Regions from separate parts of the Homo sapiens genome. Here regions 1 and 2 are each linked to region 3. Evidence: promoter capture Hi-C in human tissues and cell types (Jung and others, 2019). All regions are on one chromosome and are shown on one strand. The core of a region is centred on a gene start or on the middle of the fragment in contact, and the rest is flanking DNA. Distances in the headings are between cores, read along the strand shown. Region 1 overlaps GAN (gigaxonin). Region 2 has its middle 30 kb from the start of ARLNC1. Region 3 holds the start of GCSH (glycine cleavage system protein H).

What was found. The method cuts DNA at HindIII sites, captures the fragments that hold promoters and counts their contacts. A contact is called where the count stands out against the background at its distance.
Region 1: a contact is called between a fragment that was not itself captured here and the fragment with the promoter of GCSH in region 3, in 2 of the 25 tissues and cell types used here (dorsolateral prefrontal cortex and mesenchymal stem cells).
Region 2: a contact is called between a fragment that was not itself captured here and the fragment with the promoter of GCSH in region 3, in 1 of the 25 tissues and cell types used here (adrenal gland).

The regions. Positions count from the first base shown.
Region 1 is chr16:81,339,440-81,344,390 of GRCh38, forward strand. All of the region lies in intron 1 of GAN (gigaxonin), which reads left to right. Among named protein-coding and RNA genes, the nearest start is that of GAN, 27 kb to the left of the region's middle. The HindIII fragment of the contact is 3,554 bases long and covers 1-3,032 here.
Region 2 is chr16:80,920,859-80,925,191 of GRCh38, forward strand. No RefSeq gene overlaps it. Among named protein-coding and RNA genes, the nearest start is that of ARLNC1, 30 kb to the left of the region's middle. The HindIII fragment of the contact is 7,062 bases long and covers 1-4,333 here.
Region 3 is chr16:81,093,679-81,098,366 of GRCh38, forward strand. GCSH (glycine cleavage system protein H) reads right to left here and starts at 2,717. Exons shown (of 5, transcript NM_004483.5): 1 at 2,453-2,717. The coding sequence starts at 2,600. RefSeq lists silencers at 2,134-2,803, 2,954-3,053. The HindIII fragment of the contact is 10,346 bases long and covers 1-4,688 here.

The sequences.
Region 1 (4,951 bases), core at 6-2,505, 240 kb after region 3:
TATTTAAAGACCACTGTCAGCTTCAAGTTTATTGTACATGTAATCATCAAGCAGCATCTTCACTTTGTAAACTGCTGGGCTAGGTTGTCAGCATACAGTGATAAAGAGGGCTCCAGCCTCAAGGAACTTGGAGTTTACTAAAGGAAATAGAGAAATACCATAATGTAGGCCAGAACTTGATCATTCCATAGTATGTCATAATAAAGTTATTGATAAGGTGCTGGGGAAATTCATAACAGGAATCTATTTTTACCTACAAAGAGGTAAGGGCGGAGGTGCAGCTTGTGGCAGGATGGAGTGATCTAGGAAAAATCTGTAGAACAGCTGGCATTACAACTGATCTTTCAAAGACGGGTGGGAATTGGGCAGGCACAAATGGTATTGGGGGAGGTTAAGGGCAGGATAGGATGATGGGAAGGTGTCAGGGGCAGATGTAAGGATGTGAATTTAAACCGTAATTAAAGTTTTGATACTTAACCTTCAGGTGTTTGGAGACTTCAAGTGTACAGCAATTCATTTTTTCATGGGCTTTGGAAAGGATCACATTTTATGGAAGTCTGAAATGGTCCATGCTCGTATTTCAGGAAGTCTCTTATTCCTTCCTCTTAGCCATTGTGTATCCTCTGCCACCTGCTGAGAAAAACCTGTATTCTTTATATTTGTTCGTTTCTTTGTTTTAAATAGAGATGAGGTCTTGCTGTGTTGCCCACAATGGTCTTGAACTCCTGGGCTCAAGCAGTCCTCTCACCTCAGCCTTACAAAGTGCCCGGATTACAGGCGTGAGCCACTGTGCCCAGCCAAAACCTGTACTCATTAGAAATGATCCTCTTTCATTGTGGAAACATATGACAGTAGAATAATCCTTAAAAAAAATAATAAAACCCATCCAGTCACATGAGTCAGAAATAAAAATAAAAGAAAACAATAAAAGGGCTCCTTGTCCAACACACACCTCACACAGGCAGGTGCCCCTCTGGGGCGAAGCTTCCAGAGGAAGGATCAGGCAGCAATTTTTGCTGTTCTGCAGTCTCCACTGGTGATACCCAGGCAAACAGGGTCTGGAATGGACCTCCAGCAAACCCCCACAGACCTGCAGCTGAGGGGCCTCTCTGTTAGAAGGAAAACTAACAAACAGAAAGGAATAGCATCAACATCAACAAAAAGGACATCCACACCAAAACCCCACCCATAGGTCACCAACATCAAAGACCCAAGTAGATAAAACCACAAAGATGGGGAGAAACCAGAGCAGAAAGGCTGAAAATTCTTTGGAGGAGAAGAGAATACCTCTTCTCCTCCAAAGGAATACAACTCCTTGCCAGCAAGGGAACAAAACTGGATGGATAATGAATTTGATGAGTTGATAGAAGTAGGCTTCAGAAGGTCAGTAATAACAAACTTCTCCAAGCTAAAGGAGCATGTTTTAACCCATCGCAAGGAATCGAAAAGCGTTCAAAAAGGGTTAGACAAATGGCTAACTAGAATAACCAGTGTAGAGAAGACCTTAAATGACCTGATGGAGCTGAAAACCACAGTATGAGAACTTCATGAAGTATACACAAGCTTCAGTAGCTGATTCGATCAAGCAGAAGAAAGGATATCAGTGACTGAAGATCAGATTAATGAAATAAAGCAAGAAGACAAGATTAGAGAAAAAAGGAGTGAAAAGAAATGAAGAAAGCCTTCAAGAAATATGGGACTATGTGAAAAGACCAAATCTACATTTGTTTGGTGTACTTGAAAGTGATGGGGAGAATGGAACCAAGTTGGAAAACACTCTGCAGGATATTATCCAGGAGAACTTCCCCAACCTAGGGAGGCAGGCCAACATTCAAATTCAGGAAATACAGAGAATGCCACAAAGATACTCCTCGAGAAGAGCAACCCCAAGACACATAGATTCACCAAGGTTGAAATGAAGGAAAAAATGTTAAGGGCAGCCAGAGAGAAAGGTCGGGTTACCCACAAAGGGAGCCCATCAGACTAACAGTGGATCTCTCTGCAGAAACCCTACAAACCAGAAGAGAGTGGGGGCCAATATTCAACATTCTTAAAACTATTTTCAACCCAGAATTTCATATCTAGCCAAACTAAGCTTCATAAGTGAAGGAGAAATAAAATCCTTTACAGACAAGCAAATGCTGAGAGATTTTTGTCACCACCAGGCCTGCCTTACAAGAGCTCCTGAAGGAAGCACTAAACATGGATAGGAACAACCGGTACCAGCCACTGTAAAAACATGCCAAATTGTAAAGACCATCGATGCTGTGAAGTAACTGCATCAATTAACAGGTGAAATAACCAGCTAGCATCATAGTGACAGGATCAAATTCACACATAAGAATATTAACCTTAAATGTAAATGGGCTAAATACCCCAATTGAAAGACACAGATTGGCAAATTGGATAAAGAGTCAAGACCCATCAGTGTGCTGTGTTCAGGAGACCCATCTCACATGCAAAGACACACATAGGCTCAAAATAAAGGGATGGAGGAAGATCTACCAAGCAAATGGAAAGCAGAAGAAGCAGGGGTTGCAATCCTTGTCTCTGATAAAACAGACTTTAAACCAACAAAGATCAGAAGAGACAAAGAAGGCCATTACATAATGGTAAAGGGATCTATTCAACAAGAAGAGCTAACTATCCTAAATACATATCCACCCAATACAGGAGCACCCAGATTCATAAAGCAAGTTCTTAGAGACCTACAAAGAGACTTAGACTCCCACACAATAATAATGGGAGACTTTAACACCCCACTGTCAATATTAGACAGATGAATGAGACAGAAAATTAATAAGGGTATGCAGAACTTGAACTCAGCTCTGGACCAAGCAGACCAAATAGACATCTACAGAACTCTCCACCCCAAATCAACAGAATATACATTCTTCTTAGCACCACATTGCACTTATTCTAAAATTGACCACATAATTGGAAGTAAAGCACTCCTAGGCAAATGTAAAAGAACAGAAATCACAACAAACTGTCTCAGACCACAGTGCAATCAAATTAGAATTCAGGATTCAGACTCTCACTCAAAACCGCACAACTACATGGAAACTGAACAACTTGCTCCTGAATGATTACTGGGTAAATAACGAAATGAAGGCAGAAATAAAGATTTTCTTTGAAACCAATGAGAACAAAGACACAACGTACCAGAATCTTTGGGACACATTTCAAGCAATATGTAGAGGGAAATTTATAGCACGAAATGCCCACAAGAGAAAGCAGGACAGATCTAAAATCCACACCCTAGCATCACAATTAAAAGAACTAGAGAAGCAAGAGCAAACACATTCAAAAACTAGCAGAAGACAAGAAATAACTAAGATCAGAGCAGAACTGAAGGAGATGGAGACACAACCCTTCAAAAAATCAATGAATCCAGGAACTGGTTTTTTGAAAAGATCAGCAAAATGGTTAGACTGCTAGCAAGACTAATAAAGAAGAAAAGAGAGAAGAATCAAATAGACGGAATAAAAAATGATAAAGGGGATATCACCACCGATCCCAAAGAAATACAAACTACCTTCAGAGAATACTATGAACACCTCTACAGAAATAAACTAGAACATCTAGAAGAAATGGATAAATTCCTGGACACATACACCCTCCCAAAACTAAACCAGGAAGAAGTTGAATCTCTGAATAGACCAATAACAGGTTCTGAAATTGAGGCAATAATTAATAGCCTACCAACCAAAAAAAAGTCCAGGACCAGACGGATTCACAGCCGAGTTCTATAAAGAGGAGCTGGTACCATTCCTTCTGAAACTATTCCGATCAATAGAAAAAGGGGGAATCCTCACTAACTCATTTTATGAGGCCAGCATCATCCTGATACCAAAGCCTGGGAGAGACACAACAAAAGAGAATTTTAGGCCAATATCCCTGATGAACATTGATGTGAAAATCCTCAATAAAATACTGGCAAGCCGAATCCAGCAGCACATCAGAAAGCTTATCCACCACGATCAAGTTGGCTTCATCCCTGGGATGCAAGGCTGGTTCAACATATGCAAATCAATAAACATAATCCATCACATAAGCAGAACCAACGACAAAAACCACATGATTATCTCAACAGATGTAGAAAAGGCCTTTGACAAAATTTGGCAGCCTTTCATGGTAAAAACTCTCAATAAACTAGGTATTGGTGGAACATATCTCAACATAATAAGACCTATTTACGACAAACCCAGAGCCAATATCATCCTGAATGGGCAAAAATTGGAAGTATTCTCTTTGAAAACTGACACAAGACAAGGATGCCCTCTCTCACCATTCCTATTCAACATAGTATTGGAAGTTCCGGCCAGAGCAATCAGGCAAGAGAAAGCAATAAAGCGTATTGAAATAGGAAGAAAGGAAGTCAAATTGTCTCTGTTTGCAGATGACATGATTGTATATTTAGAAAATCCCATCATCTCAGCCCAAAATCTTCTTAAGCTGATAAACAACTTCAGCAAAGTCTCAGGATAGAAAATGAATGTGCAAAATCACAAGTGTTGCTATACACCAATAACAGACAACAGCCAAATCATGAGTGAACTCCCATTCACAATTGCTACTAAGAGAATAAAATACATAGGAATACAACTTACAAGGGATGTGAAGGACCTCTTCAAGGAGAACTACAAACCACTGCTCAAGGAAATAAGAGAGGACACAAACAATGGAAAAACATTCCATGCTCATGGATAGGAAGAATCAATATTGTGAAAATGGCCTTACTGCCCAAAGTAATTTATAGATTTAATGCTATCCCCATCAAGCTGCCGCTGACTTTCTTCACAGAATTGGAAAAACTACTTTAAACTTCATATGGAAGCAAAAAAGAGCCCGCATAGCCAAGAGAACCCTGGACAAGAAGAACAAAGAACAAAGTCAGGAGGCATCACGCTACCTGACTTCAAACTTTACTACAAGGCTGCAGTAACCA
Region 2 (4,333 bases), core at 1,180-3,679, 170 kb before region 3:
GAATCGCTTGAACCCGCGAGACGGAGGTTGCAGTGAGCCAAGATCACGCCATTGCACTCCAGCCTGGGTGACAGAGCCAGACTCCATCTCAAAAAAAAAAAAGAAGAAAGTGATAAACTGTGCCAAACGCTACTGACAGCACATGCCAGATAGAGACTGAGAAAGGACCATTGGATTTAGTCACAAGGAGGTCACTGTAAACCTGGAGAAGTGAAGTTTCAGTGGAGTAGAGGTATAAAAACCTGGTGAGGGGCGGTTCAAGAATAAGTGGGGCGAGAGAAATTCGAGGCAGCAAGGATGGACAGGTCTTCCCGGAATTCCCTGAACCCATAACGTTTTAATTTTTTCTTAAGTTACTGTGAATTGACTTTCTGTTGCTCATAACAAGAACAAAAGTCTGGGCTAATAGAGGAGGGAGGCAGGAGGCAAAGGAAGGTATTGAGTACCTACTGTGTTCCAGGAACTTCATATACATTATCTCATTTAATTTTAACTTAACTATAATAAACTTGTACCGCAGGTATTATTTATCCCCATATTACAAATAAGAAAACTGAGGCTCAGGGAAATTAACTACTTGTGTATTCAAACTTGCATTCACACCCAGATTGGACTCCAGATCCTACAGCACAGCTATTAGGGGACAACAAATATTGAAGAGAGCAGAAGGCCACTGAGGCCCTGTTTTTGCAACGATATATACAAGTGGTTCTCAACCTTCAGAACTACCCAGAGGGCTTGTCAAACCACAGGTTGCTGGGACCCCTGATTCAGCACTGAGTAGGAGAGGGGAGAGAATCTGCATCTCTAACAGGTTTCCAGGTAAGGCTGCAGGTCCGAGGGCCATACTTTAAGAACCACAGATCATCTATGACATCGCTCTCCCTTGCTCAGGCCCAGGGTCCCTGAAGACCCCACTGAGAACTAAAATCTCTCAGTTCAGTTTATTTCCAAGCTACTAGAGGGAACCCGGCAGCATCATATCAGAATCTCTTGGTCTCTTCTTTTGAATCCCTCCTGAGAACTGACTCTGGGCAGTCAGATAGCAGACACTTAATTTTTTATTTTTTATTTCCACAGGTTATTGGGGAACAGATGGTATTTGGTTACATGAGGAAGTTCTTTAGTAGTGATTTCTGAGATTTTTTTTTTTTTTTGAGACGGAGTTTTTGCTCTTCTTGCCCAGACTGGAGTGCGGTGGAGCGATCTTGGCTCACTGCAACCTCTGCCTCCCAGGTTCAAGCAATTCTCCAGCCTCAGCCTCCTGAGTAGCTGGGATTACAGGCATGCACCACCATGCCTGGCTAATATTTTTGTATTTTTAGTAGAAATGGGATTTCACCATGTTGGCGAGGTTGGTCTCAAACTCCTGACCTCAGGTGATCCACATGCCTTGGCCTCCCAAAGTGCTGGGATTACAGGCATGAGCTACCACGCCTGGCCAATTTCTGAGATTTTGATGCACCCATCACCCAAGCAATACACACTGAACTCAATTTGTAGTCTTTTATCCCTCATCACCTTTCCACCCTTCCCCCCGAGTCTCCAAAGTCCATTGTATCATTCTTATGTCTTTGTATCCTCATAGTTTAGTTTCCACTTATAAGTGATAACCTACGATGTTTGATTTTCCATTCCTGAGTTACTTCACTTAGAATAATGATCTCCAATCCCATCCAGGTGGTTGTGAATGCCATTAATTGATTCCTTTTTATGGCTGAGTAGTATTCCATCGTATATATATATATACCACAGTTTCTTTATCCACTCACTGATTGATGGGCATTTGGGCTGGTTCCACATTTCTGCAATTGTGAATTGGAGACAACAGGCACTTAGTTTAAAATGTCTTGTGTGACTCCCATATTTATCATCATATCGCATAGAATTATTTATCATCATGATTACAAATATGAGATGTGGTTGGCAGAAACAGTTTCTCTGGGAAATCTGATCAGCATGGAGTTTAGGGAGATTGTGCTTCCCAGTTCCCACAGACTGGGCTGCTACAGACAAGACTTCCCAAAATGCACCCCCACATCTTCTGGTTTGCAGCCTCTGTAGCCTGGCATGGAGAACAACCAATCAGTGCTTCACCCAAAACTTACAAAGGAACCCTCCGGCTGAACAGCCTACATTCCTTTGCACTTTCTGCCTATACCAAATGTCTCGTCCCTGGAATTGTATTACTGTTCCTCTTTGATCCTGCCTGTCCTCGCCCAGCCATGGAGGAGCGCTGGGCCTCTTTGAGGTGTTTGCATCAATAGGAGAGAATGCAGAGCTCAAGAGTGCATTGGGCTGGGTGCGGTGGCTCATGCCTGTAATCCCAGCAGCTTGGGAGGCCAAAGTGAGTGGATCATCTGAAGTCAGGAGTTAGAGACCAGCCTGGCCAACATGGTGAAACCCCGTATCTATTGAAAACACAAAAATTAGGCAGGCGTGGTGGCACACACCTGTAATCCCAGCTACCAGGGAGGCTGAGGCAGGAGAACCACTTGAACGCGGGAGGTGGAGGTTGCAGTGAGCTGAGATTGTGCCACTGCACTCCAGCCTGGGTGACAGAGCAAGATGCCATCAAAAGAAAAAAAAAAAAAAAAGAGCACACTGTGCATTGATTTGAGTGTCAGCTTCATTTTAACTCTATTTCAAACTCAGCCAGGAAGTAGCTGTGTGCCGTTAGGCAAGTTAATTGACCTCTCTGAGCCTGTGTTTCTTCTTCTATAAAACAGAGACAATAAGAAATATCTTACAGGTTGTTGGTATTGATTATCAAAACTGTTATATGCCCAGAATGAAAGATGGTAATTGACAGAGTTGTTTATTCGTTCATGTAACAAATATTCATTGAGGTCCTACTATGATCCAGGCACTGTCCCAGGATCTGGGGATGCAGCAGTGAAGAAAGCAGACACAAATTCCTACCCTCCTAGAGCATGACGTCTGGTGGGAACAGTCAGACAATTAGCAAAAAATCATTTTGTTTTTGTTTTTTTGAGACAGAGTCTTGCTCTGTTGCCCAGGCCTCAGCCTCGTAAGCAGTTGCAAGTACAAGCACTGCCATGCCCGGCTAATTTTTGTATTTTTGGTAGAGACAGGGTTTCTGCAGGTTGGCCACACTGGTCTCAAACTCCTGACCTCAAATGATCCACCCGCCTTGGCCTCCCCAAGTGCTGAGATAACAGGCCCGGCCAATGAACACATTATTTTAAAAGGAGCTAAGTTCTTTGGAGGGGTCTGGAGCCTACCATGGCAGGGAGCTTGCAATTTTAAACAGGTTGGTCAGAGAAGGCCTTGTGGAGAAGATGTTCTTTCAGTAAAGACTTGAAGGAGAGAAGGAGGTGAGCCGTGAAAACCCCTAGGTCAAGAGCAGTTGGGGACAGAAAGTGCAAAGGCCCTAATGGTGGGGCCTTCTGCATGGCTTTGAAGATCAGCAGAGACCACAGGGCCAGAGCAGAGCGAGTGAAAGAAAGATAATTAGCTGTGGGGTCACAGCATAATTATACGGGCTTTATTCATGGAAGTTATAAGCCAAAAGTAAGTCACAGTTGCCCTAAGTCAATTCACCTGGTGGCAGCCAGGGGAATGTGACCAAAAAGTCACTTTCTTAATATTTGCAACATTTTCCACTCAGCTCTTTGCAAGCTTATTTGTGTGATGACATCTTTCCCTAGTTGCCAACCGTAATACAAAGAAACCTTCACAAATACCAATAAAACCCAGACTCCCTGAGGGTGGAAATGAATCTCAATGAATGTCAAGGGAAAGGGCAGCTGGATCTCTAAACTCTGGTTCCCAGAGGTGTCTTCCTTTTGAGATCTGTGACAGCCACCAGCACGCTAGCCGCGAGGGGGCGTTGCTTCCCACCTAACACCCAGCCTTGACGGGCAGGGACCTCTCTTTAATGCCCTAGCACGGTTGGGTCAGGGTGAAGCATGAAATCAAGGCTGCAGATACTAGGAGAGAGCAGAAGGGAACGAAGCCCAGGGACCTTTAGGAGATGTGGTCAACTGGGGCTCCAGGCCAGCCCCAGAATCAGCTTTCAGCTGGCCTGTGTGAACTGGGCACCTTGTAACACTTATTTGTTCATGTAACACATCTCTGCTGGGTGAATATCATGTGTCAGGCACCGTGCTTTGCAATAGGCATGTATCTGGAATAAAATTGGCATACATCTTATACTTCAAAAAGAAATCAGGCCGGGCACAGCAGCTCACATCTGTAGTCCCAGCACTTTGGGAGACCAAGGTGGGCAGATCACCTGAGGTCAGGAGTTCGAGACCAGCCTGGTCAAAATGGTGAAACCCCGTCTCTACTAAAAATACAAAAATTAGCT
Region 3 (4,688 bases), core at 1,467-3,966:
AAAATACAAAAAATTGGCCGGGTATGGTGGCGGGCACCTATAATCCCAGCTACCCTGGAGGCTGAGGCAGGAGAATCACTTGAACCTGGGAGGCAGAGGTTGCAGTGATTCAAAGACCTAAGTCTTTATTTTACTAAGCATGCTGTTTAGGCTAAAGGCAATGATTAGTACAATTCTCCTTTAACCCTTGGCCCGACAGGAAGAAGTGGATAGATTAGGTAAATAATTACTTTCTTTTTTTGAGACAGAGTCTCACTCTGTCGCCCAAGCTGGAGTGTAGTGGTGCAATCTAGGCTCGCTGCAACCTCTGCCTCCCGGGTTCAAGTGATTCGGCCTCATCCTCCCAAGGAGCTGGGATTACAAGCACGTGCCACCACGCCCGACTAATTTTTTGTATTTTTGGTAGAGACAGGGTTTCACCATGTTGGCCAGGCTGGTCTTGAACTCCTGACCTCAGGTGATCCGCCCGCCTCAGCCTCCCAAAGTGCTGGGATTAAAGGCATGAGCCACCGTGCCTGGACAATAATTACTTTCTAACTGGGCCTTGAAAAAGGTGGTTTTTGGCCTCGGAAAATTAGGAGTTGTGAGCAATTTATGAAAATTTTGCATTTTCCTTTTTCAATGTCACTAGTCAGATAAAATATTTTATATTAGTATTAGTCAATTTTTCTTCTCTTTTTTTTTTGAGATGGAGGTGTGCTCTTGTCGTCCAGCTACTCCACAGGCTGAGGCAGGAGAAGTGTTTGAACCCGGGAAGCGAAGGTTGCAGTGAGCCAAGATCCTGCCACTGGATGCCAGCCTGGGCGACAGAGCGAGACTCCATCTCAAAAAAGAAGAAAAAAAAAAGGAACGAAAACCACAGACTTGAAACTAAATTCTTATCTGAGAAATGCTTTACCTTTGTATTCAAATTAGTGATGTAGGGATCCCTATCAGAAACAGAGCGGACAGACTATTAGCAAGACAGCATAAGTAAATCTTTATGCTACAAATTTTGGAATAAATTTATCAACCATTCCAGCTCCAAACAGGTTTCTAAAACAATGAGCTAATGAGACAAGAGCCATCACTGATCTACGCAATCGAAGCAGAGGAGCAGTCAGTGTATCAAACATTTGGGCGTAAAGAAAATTGTTGGCCTGGCGCGGTGACGCACGACTGTAATCTCAGCACTTTGGGAGGCTGAGGCGGGTGGATCACTTGAGGTCAGGAGTTTGAGACCAGCCTAACGTGGCGAAACCCTGTCTCTACTAAAAATACAAAACTCAGCTGGAGGTGGTGACGGGCGCCAGTGAACCCAGCTACTCGGGAGGCTGAGGCAAGAGAATCGCTTGAATCTGGGAGGTGGCGCTTGCAGTGAGCCGAGATCACGCCGCTGCACTCCAGCCTGGGCGACAGAGCGAGGCTCCGTCTCAATAAAAAGAAAAAAAAAAAAAAAGAAAATTGTTTTTCCCCTGCAATAATTGTGCTGAAGTAGCACAAATGGCCGAAACATTCATGGGCAGGTTTCCCAGTTATTTCAAGTCCGTTTGAGTTAGGGCTCATTTCAGCAAGCACACACATGAATGATCCAATACAAACTTTAGCAGAACTTCTGTTGAGTCCAGAAGACTTTATCTTACTTGTTTTGGGGAAATAGCTGAATCTTCAAAGTTATGATTGTTTTATCTAGTAAAAAAATCTAGATCTGGCGCTTTAATTTTTTTTTTTTTTTTTTTTTTTGAGGTGGAGTTTTGCTCTGTCGCCCAGGCTGGAGTGCAGTGGCGCGATCTCGGCTCACTGCAACCTCTGCCTCCCAGGTTCAAGCGATTCTCCTGCCTCAGCCTCCCGAGTAGCTGGGATTACATGCGCATGCCGCCACGCCTGGCTAATTTTTTGTACTTTTAGTAGAGATGGGATTTCACCGTGTTAGCCAGGATAGTCTCGATCTCCTGACCTCGTGATCCGCCCTCCGGCATGAGCCAACGCGCCCTGCCTGGTGCTTTAATTTTAATAAGCGCTTCTGTTTTAATTTTACTTCGGAGTTCTCAGTAACGGTCCATTTAGTAAACTAAAGGCCTCCCCATTTGGGGTCTCAACGATGCACGCAGATGGGAGATAAACTTAAGGCCACCGAGACGCTTAAGCGACACGTGCCTGGCTTCTGCAGCAAGCGGCCGACCTGCCCGCCGGACCCGCCGGGCCACCCCCGCCTCGGTGTCCCGCAGGCCTCCCCTCCCGGCTGCATGCAATCCCTAGGGCAAAGGCTACTCGCGGGTCCTCCCGCTACTTAAGGGGGAGAAGCGGCCGCAGAGCCAGGGATCCCAACAGAAATAAGAAGGGGGCAGGGTCCGCGCTCGCTCCGCCCCGGTGGCTCAGGAGCGGTGCCCCGGCGTCCTCCGTGTCCCGCTGGGCCCGGGACAAGCAGCCCAGGCGGGGAGGGAGCAGCCGCCCACGTGCCCGCCGCGCTTACCCGAGAGCAGAGCGGGTCCAGTGCGCAGCGTACGGACGGCGCCCACCCCCAGCTGCCAGGGCCTCGGCGGGCAGGGCGCGGCGGGTGACGGGACCGCGCGCAGGGTGCAGAGCAGGGCCCGCACGCTCCGCACCACTCGCAGCGCCATGTTCGCAGGGGTGCGGGGGTCGCAGCGCTACGCCTCGGCCACCCGCGCCGGGAGGCGGGGCGGGGAGGGGCAGTTCGCGGCCGGAGGGAGCCGGCTGGATGGAGGCGCGGAGGCGGTGCCGCGGGGGCGGGACAGAGCCTGACTGGGCAGAGCGTGGAGGGCGGAGACTCCCAGGCGAGGGGGCGAGGCAGGGTCTGATTGGCCAGCACGCGGAGACTGGGGACTCCAGGGCCTGGCGCGACCTCGGATACGGCGACGCGAAAGAGGGGCGTGGGCATGGGGAAGAACCTGAGGCCCGGAAGAGGCAGCACCGAGAGGCGGAGACTAGCGCGGCGGGCCTGGGTATGATTGGGCTGCCCGCAGGAGGGGGGCGGGGCCTAGCCCCAGACTGGGTTCCTTTCCACATGTGTATCTCTTTTACTGCCTCTGTCATAAGTTTTCAAAGGTGGTTTCACCACCTCACGAAGGAATTCAAGAACAAGTCGGAAAGTCGTGAAAGTACAGAGGTTTACTGCAAAGTACACACTGAAGAAAGGGCGGACTCAAAAGAGGGCCACACAATGGGGCTTGGGGTTTCCATCTTTATGGGTTTCTTTGAGAAATGGAATATACACAAAGGTTTCTGGAATAAGGTGGAGACTTGTCAGAACTGTGGTGCCACCCATTTTTACACCAAATATGGGTGTTCCCGGAATTGTTGTGGTGCCGGTGGGTGTGTGACTTAGTATGTTAATGAGTCCTAGGTGAAGCCTAGGTCAAAGCCACACCACGTTGGGTCCAGTTGGTTTTAGCCAGGTTGACCCACACCCTGGTTTTTCAGGGTCTTAGCCCATAGCTTGTGCAGCTATTTCAACAGTTTCCTTTTGTTAGACAGAACTGCAGCCTGGAAGTTTCTATTCTCCTTCAACTGCTCTGTAACGTTCCTGTCTCAAAGAGCCCCAGGGACCCCAAACAGGACCGGCAGAATCCAGAAGCTTACTTAAAAAGGAATAAAGACTTGTCCAAGGGTCATAAGTGGCTTCTTGGTGGAGACTGGACCCAAGCCAGTCACTAATGCAGAAATATTCAAAACGCAGAGAGCTGAGACCCAGTGTGCACAATTCCTTGTTTCATCGGCCAGCGGTGTGACCAAGGCCTTCCGAGAAAAGCCGAAGTCATCATCCCAATCCAAGAAGTCAGAAAAAAATTAGGTTCTGGGAAAAACCTCACCTTTAACACAGATTTTATGGAGTGGCCATGAGTCAGCAAAGAAATACTGTTCTGAAAAACACCTTAAGCTACACACACACCTTTAGTACTGTTACAGAAAGGGCTCCCAATCCAGACCCCAAGAGAGGGTTTTTGGACCTCATGCAAGAAAGAATTTGGGGAGAGTCTATAAAGTGAAAGCACGTTTAATAGAGAAGTAAAGAAAAAAAAGAATGGCTTCTTCGTAGACAGAGCAGCAGTATGGCTTCTCGACTAAGTGTACTTATAGTTATTTCTTGATTGTATGCTAAACAAGGGGTGGATCATTCAAGAGTTCTCCAGAAAAGGGGCAGGGATTTCCTAGAACTAACGGTTCCTCCGCTTTTTGGACTATAGGGTAACTTCTCTGGACGTTGCCATTGCATTTGTGAACTGTCATGACGCTGGTGGGAGTTGTTTTTTTTTTAACATGCTAATGCATTATAATTAGCGTATAATGAGCAGTGAGACCTACCAGAGGTCGCCATCTTGGTTTTGGTGAGTTTTGGCCAGCTCCTTTACCGCATCCTATTTTATCAGCAGGGACTTTGTGACCTGTATCTTGTGCCAACCCTAGCTCATCCTGTGACTAAGTGAGGCAGGTGAATCACTTGAGGTCAGGAGTTCGAGACCAACCTGGCCAACATGGAGAAACCCCCGTCTCTACTACAAATCCAAAGTTTAGCCAGGCATGGTGGCAGGTGCCTGTAATCCCAGCTACTCAGGAGGCTGAGGCACGAGAATCACTTGAGCCTGGGAGGCAGAGGTTGCAGTGAGTCGAGATCACGCCACTGCACTCCAGCCTGGGTGACAGAGCGAGACTCTGCTTCAGAAAAAAATACAAATAAAAAGAATGCCTAA